Linked DNA regions of Homo sapiens: all the other regions are linked to region 3. The links are contacts of gene promoters, found by promoter capture Hi-C in blood cells and fetal thymus (Javierre and others, 2016). All regions are on one chromosome and are shown on one strand. The core of a region is centred on a gene start or on the middle of the fragment in contact, and the rest is flanking DNA. Distances in the headings are between cores, read along the strand shown. Region 1 holds the start of ATP2A2 (ATPase sarcoplasmic/endoplasmic reticulum Ca2+ transporting 2). Region 2 holds the start of FAM216A (family with sequence similarity 216 member A). Region 3 holds the start of BRAP (BRCA1 associated protein).

Region 1 (3,685 bases), core at 471-2,970, 1.4 Mb after region 3:
TTCAAGTGTTTTGTTTTGTAATTTTAAAATGCCCAGATTGTTTTTAAACATAGAGACACAGCTTGCAACTCCAAATATGTTTTCACCCAATGGACATCATTTGTTTTCTGATTTATCTATGGAATACTTTCAGCTTTTGGGGGGAAAGAAAATAAATTTTTTTATACTTACAAAAGATATACATGCTGCCAGTAATAAAATCCTAACTAGCAAGTCTTCAAACTGCTCAATCACAAGTTCCAGCAAGGTTTTTCCTGTAAGAAACAAACACATGTGTTTTAACTGTCATCTTACCATCAGCACACCAACAGAGGAAAAAAAACAGAAACAGCATGTTAAGATTACCTTCTTCAGCCGGTAACTCTGTAGAATGTAGAAATTCGTCAAGCAATGTGTCAAGAGGGAGGTTAAAAAAAAAAAGAGAGAGACATTTTAGCACTTCGTTTTTCTAAAAAGAACTGCTACAATTCTAAGCATCAATATCTTTAAAACACAGACCTAGCTATAAGAATATCCGATTTTTTTAGCAGAGGGCATACCACGAAGATATCTCAAGGAAGCATGCACTCTTTGTAATCAATGGCCTGAGGTCTAGCCCTAAGCGTGAAATCACTTCGGGCTCCTGAACCTAGGAGTGGTTTCAGCGATGTCATCACTTCTGCCAGATGTGTAACTTTGGGTAGGACAAGAACGGTCAGAGGCCTTCCAACGACCTCGACTCCTCATAAATCGGCAGGGGACGAGAAAACGTCTTGCCGGGCTCAACCTAGCTGCAGAAGCCACGTCCCTCCCTCCACCGGGGCCGGCTGCTGCTGGAGAGAAGCCTCCGAGCCTTGCGCGCCGAAAAGGTCGAGGGCCCGAGAAGCGAAGAGGTCCAGGGAAGGCGAGGCGAGGACCGCAGCCCCTTTCTCTCCCGCGGGGCCGGCGCGCTGGCCCGACCCTCCGCCCGCAGCTGTCGGCGGGCGCGGAGCCGAAGCCCACGAGGTGGAGCCCGGTCAGCCATCTTCCCTGGCTCTCCCGGCCGCGCCGGGCCCCTGCAGCGGAGCGCCCTGCACCTACCGTTGGAGCCCCATCTCTCCTTAAGCTTCTTGACCTGTTCCAGGCTCAGCCCCGTACTCTCGTTGACGCCGAAGTGGCCCAGCACCTCCTCCACCGTCTTGGTGTGCGCGTTCTCCATGGCTTCGGGGGCCCGGCCGGCCTCGCCTCCCGTCCCCGCGGCCTCCTCGCCTCCGCCTCGCACTCCGGCCGCGGGCTCGTGCCACCCCGGGAGCCCAGGCGCGGACGGGCTCTCCCCTCCTCCTCTTGCGGCCGCTTCCGCCTCGCCGGGCGCTGAATCACCCCGCGCCCCCTCCCCCAGACAACCGCCCCTCGCGCGGCCCCGAGCTCCGCAGGGCGGGTTGGGGGCTCCTGACCCACCCTCCCTCCCCTCGCCAGAAGGGAGGGCCTCCCTCGCCCTCAGCCGCCCGCCGGGAGGGCAGGCCGCGGCCCCCGAGCCCCCTCCCCGCTCTCTTGAGGCGATCAGAGGCCCCGCCCGGGCCGGAGGAGGGGGCGCCCGGCAGACCACTGAGGGCGGAACGCGGCGAGGGAGGCGAGCCGGCGGGGCGGTGCGCGGCGCGCTCGCCCGGGTCCCTCAGCGCCGCACGCCCGACAGCGGCGGAGGAAACTGCGGCGAAGGAAAAGGAGGTGGCGTCGGGGACGGCTCCGCGGCGGCTGCTCTAATAGCATTTATCGGCCGCTGCCTCCCCTTTCGCCGCCGCCGCGGCATGTGGACGCCGCTCATTGGCCGAGAGCGCCCAGCGCGGCGCGGGCGGCGCGGCCCCGCCCCCTCCTCCCGGCTCCCTCCTCCCGCGCGCCTGGCGCCCACGCTGCCGCGCAGGCCCCGCCCCCTCCCGCGCGCCGCCCCTAGGAACCCGGATCGAGGCCGCGCGCGCCGCGGTCGCGGGGCTGGCGGAGGGGAAGCTGGGTACCCTCTTCTGTGCCTGCGGTTCTCTGACCCACCCACCTGCAGACGCAGGGTGGGGCGCTCACAGTGGGCACGCTGCTCTGGGGCCGGTGGGCGGATGGTTGGAAGGCGAGGCCGAGGAGCTGGGAGCGCGGTCCACGCGGGGCGTCTCGAGGCGCCCTCGGGCTGATGTCCTTGGCTCGCCTCCTCGCCCTCGGTCGCCCGGGCTGCGCTCTGCATCCTAATCTGGCTCCTTCAGAGCCCCCCTCAGAAACCAAGGGGAGGAATTCCGCAGTTCACTTCCCACACAACCCAAATCCTTCATCTGTCGCCTCGGGAACACCGCATCCTACACCCCCTGCCGCCAGCTCCTTCGCACGCCAGCCCCGATTCTTCCCCAGCGGGTTCTGGGCCCTGACGAGGGAACCCCCCTCGCGGGGGGGAGGGAGAAGAGTTGATTTTATTATTAATAGCTGACGCAGCGCTTGATAGGTGTCTGCAGGGCAGTCACAGTTCACGCCGCTGGAGCTGCCACACAGCAGCTAGACTTGGGCTAGGAGGTGCTTCGCTGTGGCTTTCAGATGAAGGCCATTTCATAGACTCACTTCCCTCGACAGGAGAAAAGGGGACTTGAATCCAAAGCTGCTCTTAAACCACAGATGATTTGCTCTGCTCGGGAGGACAAAGCGCAGGTCACAGCAAGATAAAGGGAATTTTGCCAATATAAAGAAGCTACATTACTTAACAAGGGGATGGGAAATTGCATGGAATTCATGAACAAAACATGAACATATTCTCTTCACAAAGAAGAGCAGCTTTCTTCACGGAGTAGGTTGCAGAATGAAGCAATTAGTCCACTTTTGTGTTTAACAATAACGCACCATCCGCATGAGCAAAAGCAGAGCAGAAAAATCACCTCAGTTGTCTCAAGTGGCTGGGCTTCAGGACTTAAGATAAATTCCTTCAGCAGATGCAAATTACAGTGCATCACCAGCTGAAAAAATCAGGCACGTCATGTCATTTAATTATTTCCAAGGAGTGGACGTTGGCATGTAGTTTTGATTGATACTTGGAAAAGAACCAACAAAACCCTACACGAAACAAACAAACAAAAAATTATACTATATGGCAACGCACTGAGAGAAGCCAGGTGGAAACTGGTTAGGTCACAGGATCAGAGCCGCTTCAAGAGGGGCACGTGAGTGCACGGTGGGAGTGTGGTCATGGAGGGCTGGCTGTTGTTGCCCTCTGAGACCAGCTCTGCACCATTTCGTACCAATTCTTCTCCCTTACCTCCTCTGTCTCTTTCAGGACCGATAGAAGCACTGCAGGCAGGAGAAGGATGGTTTACCTTTCTCAGCCTGGAAATTAGCTTAGGCATTTGATGTTGAATATTCTGTGCCACTGTCACTGCTTGGGGTTGTAAGCACCTCTGGTGCAATTATGAGCTTCTGGAGGAGTTCCTGACCTCAGCCTTTGTATGGAATGCTCTTCCCACAGATCTTCTTCACTTGTGTCGTTCTCTTTCCATTCAGATCGCAGCTTACATGTCCCCTCCTCAGAGATGTCTTTGCTGTCTAAAGTGGCTACCCAGCCACAGTGGCTCACGTCTGTAATCCCAGCATTTTGGGAGGCTGAGGCAGGAGGATCCCTTGAGCCCAGGAGTTTGAGACCAGCCTGGGCAATATAGCGAGACTCCATCTCTACTAAAAAAAAAAAAGAAAAAAATTAGCTGGGCGTGGT
Region 2 (4,035 bases), core at 868-3,367, 1.2 Mb after region 3:
GCATAATAAACCTGATTCTAGTTTGAAAATTTTATTTTGTATTTCTGGGAATATAAGCTTTTCATAAATTAGTCTTGGTTTGTGTTTTTTAATGGGGTTCCTTAAACCAAACTGAAGGGCATACTGTCTTTTTTTTTAATTGTAGTTTTAAGAGTTTGGATAAACTAAAGGAAGCATGGAGATGAACGACAGGCGGAGATAAAAGGAAAGGACAAACAACCTCTTTGTGCCTGTTTTGTCATCCATAAAGTGGGGATCATAATAGAACCTTCCAGGATTACAGGCTCATGCCCATCTCTACTAAAAATACAAAAATTAGCCAGGTACGTGGTGGCGCACACCTGTAGTCCCAGCTACTTGGGAGGCTGAGGCAGGAGAATTGCTTGAACACAGGAGGCGGAGGTTGCAGTTAGCTGAGATCGTGACACTGCACTCCAGCCTGGGTGACAGAGGGAGACTCTGTCTCAATAAAAAAAAAAAAAAAAATTCACGTATCTCCTGATACACCAGGATCCTGCAGTCGGCCAAGGACTGTGAAGAACAGAAAAGAAACCCAAGACTCCATCCCATCTTTAAGAAGTCTTCAGTAGCACCAGAGACAAAAAGGACGGCCATGCGGGCGGATCACGAGGTCAGGAGATCGAGACCATCCTGGCTAACACGGTGAAGCCCCGTCTCTACTAAAAATACAAAAAAGTAGCCGGGCGTGGTGGCAGGCGCTTGTAATCCCAGCTACTCCAGAGGCTGAGGGAGGAGAATGGCGTGAACCCGGGAGGCGGAGCTTGCAGTGAGCTGAGATGGCACCACTGCACTCCAGCCTGGGCAACAGAACGAGACTCTGTCTCAAAAAAAAAAAAACAAAAAGGATGGCCATGGGTGCAACAGGGGCCCTGACTGCGGGTTGTACTGAACGGCAAACATATCGCAGTTCTTGCTTTTAGGGAATAAAGTAGGGAGAGGAAGAGGAGGTAGAGTCTCCAGCAGTGACTTCAACAGCTCGCTGTCTTCACTATCTAGGAAATAGGTGTAAAAACCTGCTCAAAACGAAATAGATTTGTGAAAAAAGGAACTTCAGTGTGAAGAAAATGTCAAGATCAAGGCACCTCGGATATTCAGTCATTGGTCTCATTGGCGATTAGAAATCCTCGTTTGAGGTCGGGCGCAATGGTTCACCCCGTAATCCCAGCAATTTGGGAGGCCGAGGCGGGCGGCTCACTTGAGGTCAGGGGTTCGACACAAGCCTAGCCAACATGGTGAAACCACCTCTCTACTAAAAATACAAAAATTAGCCGGGCGTGGTGGCAGGCGCCTGTAATCCCAGCTACTCGGGAGGCTGAGGCAGGAGAATCACTTGAACCTGGGAGGCTGAGGTTGCAGTGAGCTGAGATCGCACCACCGCATTCCAGCCTAGGCAACAGAGCGAGACTGTCTCGCTCTCAAAAAACAAGAAAGAAAAGAAAAAAAAAGAAAAAGAAATCCCCGTTTGACAGGAAGGTGGCTCATGTCACTAGAGGGAAGGAACTGGTTTATGGGCCTGGATGCCCCCAGTTGAACCGGGGGACATCTTCCTCCTCTGTCCCTCCCGCCTCGCCTTTCGGTGGACACACAGTCCTGTGCCAGACAGCAAACGTCCCAGCAGGGCTCGCAGCGCCCCCTCGGGGCAGAGAGATGCACGCGGGCGACTGTCGCAGTCACCTCGTGGCCACTGCACCAAACGCTCCTCCGAAGCTTCCCTCAGAGACCCTCCCTCAACCGCGAGGCAGTCCTCCCCTCTGCCCTCTGTCCACAACAAAACTGCTCCCCGCCTCTCACTTGAGGGCACCGGGGCCAGCCCCCGAGACGAGAGGTCGGCCGCAGCCCTCCTCCACGGGGCTCACGACCCGGGGGCCTCACGACCCGGGGGCCCCATGCTGCCACCCTTACCCCGGGGCCCCCAACCTCACCCGCCGCCGCCACCCTCGGTCCCGGCCACAGCGGGCGGCTCTGCAGAAGAGCTACGCTCCGTCCAGTCGGACCCCGGACCCTGGCCGGGCATCTCCGCGGCGCCGAGACCGCGAGCCGTGTGCGGGAGCAGCTGTCCCAGCATCCCTCCCCCGACAGCACGCGTGCGTCAGGCTGCTGGTATTCCGGAGAGGCGGCTCGGATGCTGGCTTCTCGCCCCTCCGAAGCCGTTCGGACACTGCCCGAACAGCTTCGGGAGAGCGGGGCGGGCAGATCCGCGACCCCGGAGTTACGGTGGGGGAGGGGCAGGAGCGCTGCGGTCGCTGAGCGTTTGCACGTTTGCACCTCTCTGTGGAAGCAGTGCGTCACAGGAGGGAAATATACATGCTCCCCAAAACAAGAGGTGCCTTCCACTTCAGTATTCCAGATCCTCAGCACATTTGCAAATCGCGAGGGTCACCATACAGGTCAAACGTCTGCACGCAAACCACGGACCGAAGCACGTGGCGCAAGGATGCGGAGCTTTATCTGTTGTCCGTTATTACTCAGGTATCCAAGCTTAGACAGCATCCCAACGGCCGATTTCCATCAACTACTTTTGCGCACGCGCAAATCCTCTCCCTCGCCCCTCCCCTTTTTTCTCAGGACGCGTTTCTCACGGGATTTGGCCCGCGGGCTGCCCCGTAGTAGGAGGTGTGGTAGAACTGGAGGCGTAGAAAGAATGTGGATTGCGATTGGTTCGCACTTCACTTTCCCGGAGCTCAGTGGGCGTCGCGCGAAGGCTAAGGGAGTGTGGCGGGCGGCTCCGGGAGCCAACATGCCTCGGTATGCGCAGCTGGTCATGGGCCCCGCGGGCAGCGGGAAGGTGAGGATCTGCGGGGACAAGGAGAGAAAAGTAGGAGTTCGTGGAAGGCGGGAGATTGGGTCCTGAGGGAGTGAGCCGGCGGGTGTGTGTACTGGGAACCCTGAGACCCCACGCAACTCATTTCTGCTGTCTGGCTTCACGTTCTTTTTTGTTGTTGTTTTGAAAGGGAAATAATGGTAGTTGTTAATATTTATTGTATACTTAAGCCCCAGGCAGCAGATGAAACGCCTCGCTTATTTCTACAACAACCCTGTGAGAGAGATCTCATTTTTCTCATTTTACAGAAAACGAGATACAGAAAGGTTAATTAAGTTCTTTGCCCCGCAAAAAAATATAAATCCAGTTTTGTCTCAACTCCAGAATCCGGCCCTGTCTCGCTCCCAGGAGGGTAAAGTGGGGTCTCATTAATTACTGTTTCTCAGAACTTGGGACATGGACTTTTGGTATTTAAGGTGCTTTTAGGTGGTAGGTGGTACATGGACCCCACATTAAGGAGCATCAGATAATGTGTTAGGGAAATTGTTCCCTTTTCATTTCTCTTTCAGTTCTCAACTTCGCATTTAGGAGAAGTTGTGCTCGGTGCTAGTGTGTATCTTCAGCACTTCTTTAATCCCCAGGTCTTTTCAGAGAGCAGTTCTTAGTCTCAGAGCTTTTAATAGGCACCTGTATTTAGCTAAAAATAGAACATTTAAAGATTTTATATAATTTTATGTCTAATTTCACGTTATGTCAAATATAAGTGGTTTTCAGTTTACAGTAGGGATAAAATTTTTTCTTGTAAACAAATATTAAGGGAATGTTAGGAACATTCAAATACAGTGAGAATGGTGAAGATATGGATCAAATAACATATGTGTGGGAAACATAGCCAGGCGTGGTGGCTCACGTCTGTAATCCTATCACTTTGGGAGATGGAGGTGGACGGATCGCCTGAGCCCAGGAGTTTGGGACCAGCCTTGGCAACACGGCGAAACTCTGTCTCTACAAAAAAATGCAAAAATTAGCCAGGCCTGGTGGCAGGTACCTCTAGTCCCAGCTTCTCGGGAAGCTGAAGTGGGAGGATTACCTGAACCCAGGAGGTTGAGGCTGTGGTGAGTGGTGATCGTGCCACTGCACTCCAGCCTGGGTGACAGAGGTACTGTCGCAAAAAAAAAAAAGAAGAAGTGTGGAAACACTAGAGTCTGTGGAGGTGTTGTGTGGCCTCAGTCTTTAACAAACACATTGTTCTA
Region 3 (3,685 bases), core at 1,099-3,598:
TGTCAAGGTTCATTTGCATTTTCAGTTTTACTTAACGTTCCTATGCCAAGGCCAATGTTTATGATAGAAAGAGAAATTTACTTACACACTTGTATATTTTGTGTGAGGGCTTAGTAGAGACGAAAAATGCCTTTGGGGGGGCCGGGCGCGGTGGCTCACGCCTGTCATCCCAGCACTTTGGGAGGCCGAAGTGGGCGGATCACAAGGTCAGGAGTTCGAGACAAGTCTGACCAACATGGTGAAACCCTATCTCTAAAAAAAAATACAAAAATCAGCTGGGTGCAGTGCTGTGTGCCTGTAGTCCCAGCTACTTGGGAGACTGAGGCAGGAAGCTTGAACCCAGGAAGCCGAGGTTGCAGTGAGCCGAGATGGCACCACTGCACTCCAGCCTGGGCGACAGAGTGAGACTCCGTCTCAAAATACAAAAAAAAAAAAAGGTTTGTTTGGTAAAGAGATAAAGAATGTTCGTTCTGGATTCAGATTGCCTGAATTTCAGTTCCAGCTCTGCCACTACTACCTGTGAAATCCTGAGCCAGTTACTCTTCCTCCAAGCCTCAGGTTACTCCTCTGTAGAACAGGGACATAGTACCAGTTTCATAAAGTTGTTGTGACCATTGCATGACACAAGGTATATGAAACACTCAAATTAGTACCTGGCACATGTTGAAATGTTATCTACTATAGTAATATACTAAAAAAGTTCACAAGAGGTCTCATAGGTTTTATGCATACAGTATGTGTGTATGGTTTATGCACTTTCACATAACCCTGTGATTCTTCAACAGGGTTATGTTTTCTAACCCCAAGGAGACATCTGGAAAGGTCCAGAGACATTATTGGTTGTCACCACCTGGGGAGAGGTGCTACTGACATCTAGTGGGTCAGGCCAGGGATGTTTCTAAACACTCTACAATGCTCAGGACACCCCGCCCCCTTGCCAAAAACAAAAAAGAATAATCAGGACCCAAAATGTTAATAGTGCAGAGTTGAGAAACCCTGATTTAAACAGGGCATATGGAAACGTATTTCATAGGATGTAGTCACAAGATCTATATACGCATGTATCTTGTGGTCATGTCATAGTCCAGATACACACACATCTAGAACGCACTATGTCCACACACACACACATCTAGAATGTACTATGTACTTACATATGTATCATTATACAATGTACCTAGAGTAGCATCCTGTCATGTATGTGTCCCATATGCATTGATTGTGTCAGTATCTACATACAAAAGCCACTCTGACATACTGGAAAGAATGCTGAGCCTCAGAAAAGCTAATGTTATCTCCATATACATAATTCCATTTCATCCTCACAACTGCATGAGGACATGATATCATGCCAACTTTATGCAATGACTATACTAGTTCAAGACTGCACAACTGCTGATGTAGGTCAACCTCATAGTACGGACAGGAACTGTGTTTATCTTATACGCCAACGTATCTCAAGCATCCCAAGGGTGTCTAGACTCTCAGTAAACATTTGTGAAGTGACAGGGTGGGGAGGAGGACCCCGGTCTAACTGCAGCACTATGCTCGTAACCAGCAGATCACCATCTTTTCTCTCTTTTTTTTGAGACGGAGTTTCGCTCTTGTTGCCCAGGCGGGAGTGCACTAGCACTATCTCGACTCACTGCAACCTCCGCCTCCCGGGTTCAAGCGATTCTCCTGTCTCAGCCTCCCAAGTAGCTTGGACTACAGACGCGCGCCACCAAGCCCGGCTAATTTTTTGTATGTTCAGTAGAGACGAGGTTTCACCATGTTGGCCAGGTTGGTCTCGAACTGCTGACCTGAGGTGATTCGCCCGCCTAAGCCTCTGGGCTGGGATTACAGGCGTGAGCCACCGCGCCCAGCCAGATCGCTATCTGAACAGCGATCGACTCTCCACTCTCTACGGCCCCTTAGAAGGAACTTCACCTCTCTGAGCCTCGTTGTACCTATCTGTAAAGTGGGACAGAAACAAAACCATCCAGACTAGGGTTAGAGACAGGAGTCAAACACAACAAAAGGGGCAAAGTTCTGCATAGCAGATAGCTCGGACAATTCGGAGACCTCGCGGAGCCAGGGATCCCGCGCCGTCAGCCGAGGTGGATTAGGACGAGGCCTCTGGAGCAAGCAGAGGTTAACTCGCGACTGTGCGAAAACCTGCAGCTCAGCCTAAGTGTGGCACCCCAGCGCAAGCAATCTCCACGACGTCCTTCCGCTCCGACCTCCTCAAAATTGCGTCCGGAAGAGCAGTGGGTGACCCCTGCCACGCCGCCCAATCGCTGTGCGCGGTCCTGCGCGCATGCGTAAACCGCAGGTCAGCGACGGCGGCCGGGAGGCGGAAGTGGAGGTTGTTGTGGCTCCGAGGGCTGTTCGAGGAGCTGCTGCTGCTGAGGCGGCGGCAACTGCATTGAGGTGGTGGCGGCGCTGCCGGCCCCGGGCCGCTCGGCCTCTCGGCTCGCCTTCCAGCCTCGCCTGAGCCCGCCGGGGCCCGCGCCGGCCAGCGCCTGCCCTATGAGTGTGTCACTGGTTGTTATCCGATTGGAGCTCGCGGAACACTCGCCTGTCCCCGCCGGCTTCGGCTTCAGCGCCGCGGGTGAGTCCCGCGGCCTCGCCGCATTCCCTGTAGCCGGGTCTGGGCCCGGAGGGCTTCCCTTCCCAAAGCACTGGCCCGGGAAAAGCCCGCGGCGAGGGCTGTTGCCCAGGAAGACACGGAGAGGTAATCGGGATCCCTCTCTTTCCCATCCGCCTTTGAGAGGCCTTCCCGTTTGTTATCTCAGGGAAGCCCTGCCCCGAACCTCCCTCCCTGTGCCGTCTGAGGGCATTTAGTTTATACCTGGCGCGTCTCCCTCTCGAGATAGTCGAGTGGTGTGTTTGTCTCACTTGCTTCCCTATGGGCTTCGTAAAGGCAGGGACTGGGTCCCCAGCAACGCTGGACGGTCCCTGGGTTAATTAAATTGTTCCCTTTTGGAACGATATCCATTGAAGTGCCCCCTAACCATAGTCATAACTAAAATTTGGACACTTCCTATATCCCAGCACTGTACTAAGCACCTTTTGTGTATTGTATTCTTTAATTATCTTTGCAACAGCCCTAAGAGGCAGATGGATGTGACATGTACCTCTTACACATTGGGAAACTGAAGCTTAGTGATTAATTGATTTGCCCAAGGTTATCTGTAATGGGTGAAACTGGGATTCTAACTCAGTGAGCTGGACTTGAGTCTGAGCTTTTTACACCATTAACACAAGTGAGGAAGCTCCTTAGTGGGGAATGCAGCTCTGGCTCTGTTCCTTGGTCCTCAGATAATTAACTAACATTCATTCAAGAAATACTTGGCCGGGCGCGGTGGCTCACGCCTGTAATCCTCACACTTTGGGAGGCCGAGGCGGGCGGGTCACCTGAGGTTGAGAGTTCAAGACCAGCCTGGCCAACATGGTGAAACCCTGTCTGTACTAAAAATACAAAAATTAGCTGGGCGTGGTGACAGGTGCCTGTAATCCCAGCTACTGGGGAGGCTGAGGCAGGAGAATCGCTTGAACCCGGGAGGTGGAGGTTGCGGTGAGCCAAGATTGTGGCACTGCACTCCAGCCTGGGCGACAAGAGATAAAGTCCATTTCAAAAAAAAAAACAAAAAAAAAACTTATGCTCATATCTGCTGGAGCCTTCCTTGTGTGCTGAATCAGA

What was found. Contacts are between HindIII fragments. The CHiCAGO score rates a contact against its expected background, and 5 or more counts as called.
Region 1: the fragment with the promoter of ATP2A2 here is called in contact with the fragment with the promoter of BRAP in region 3 in 1 of 17 cell types (fetal thymus); the score reaches 5.3 in fetal thymus.
Region 2: a contact is called between the fragment with the promoter of FAM216A here and the fragment with the promoter of BRAP in region 3, in 1 of 17 cell types (fetal thymus). The highest score is 7.3, in fetal thymus.

The regions. Positions count from the first base shown.
Region 1 is chr12:110,279,282-110,282,966 of GRCh38, reverse strand. It overlaps ATP2A2 (ATPase sarcoplasmic/endoplasmic reticulum Ca2+ transporting 2), which reads right to left and starts at 1,720. Exons shown (of 20, transcript NM_170665.4): 1 at 1,060-1,720; 2 at 346-363; 3 at 172-254. The coding sequence starts at 1,177. RefSeq lists enhancers at 271-1,025, 2,143-2,212 and silencers at 853-1,362, 1,453-2,052. The HindIII fragment of the contact is 3,608 bases long and covers 1,087-3,685 here.
Region 2 is chr12:110,466,927-110,470,961 of GRCh38, reverse strand. FAM216A (family with sequence similarity 216 member A) reads right to left here and starts at 2,117. Exons shown (of 7, transcript NM_013300.3): 1 at 1,944-2,117. The coding sequence starts at 2,086. It overlaps GPN3 (GPN-loop GTPase 3), which reads left to right and starts at 2,705. Exons shown (of 8, transcript NM_016301.4): 1 at 2,705-2,806. The coding sequence starts at 2,759. It overlaps LOC124903016 (a long non-coding RNA gene), which reads left to right. Exons shown (of 3, transcript XR_007063459.1): 2 at 146-323; 3 at 511-673. RefSeq lists enhancers at 1,374-1,543, 2,464-2,593 and a silencer at 1,744-2,053. The HindIII fragment of the contact is 771 bases long and covers 1,731-2,501 here.
Region 3 is chr12:111,684,619-111,688,303 of GRCh38, reverse strand. BRAP (BRCA1 associated protein) reads left to right here and starts at 2,348. Exons shown (of 12, transcript NM_006768.5): 1 at 2,348-2,593. The coding sequence starts at 2,512. ACAD10 (acyl-CoA dehydrogenase family member 10) reads right to left here and starts at 2,251. Exons shown (of 21, transcript NM_025247.6): 1 at 2,065-2,251. RefSeq lists a silencer at 2,476-2,575 and enhancers at 1,920-2,621, 2,622-3,323, 3,324-3,685. The HindIII fragment of the contact is 2,811 bases long and covers 335-3,145 here.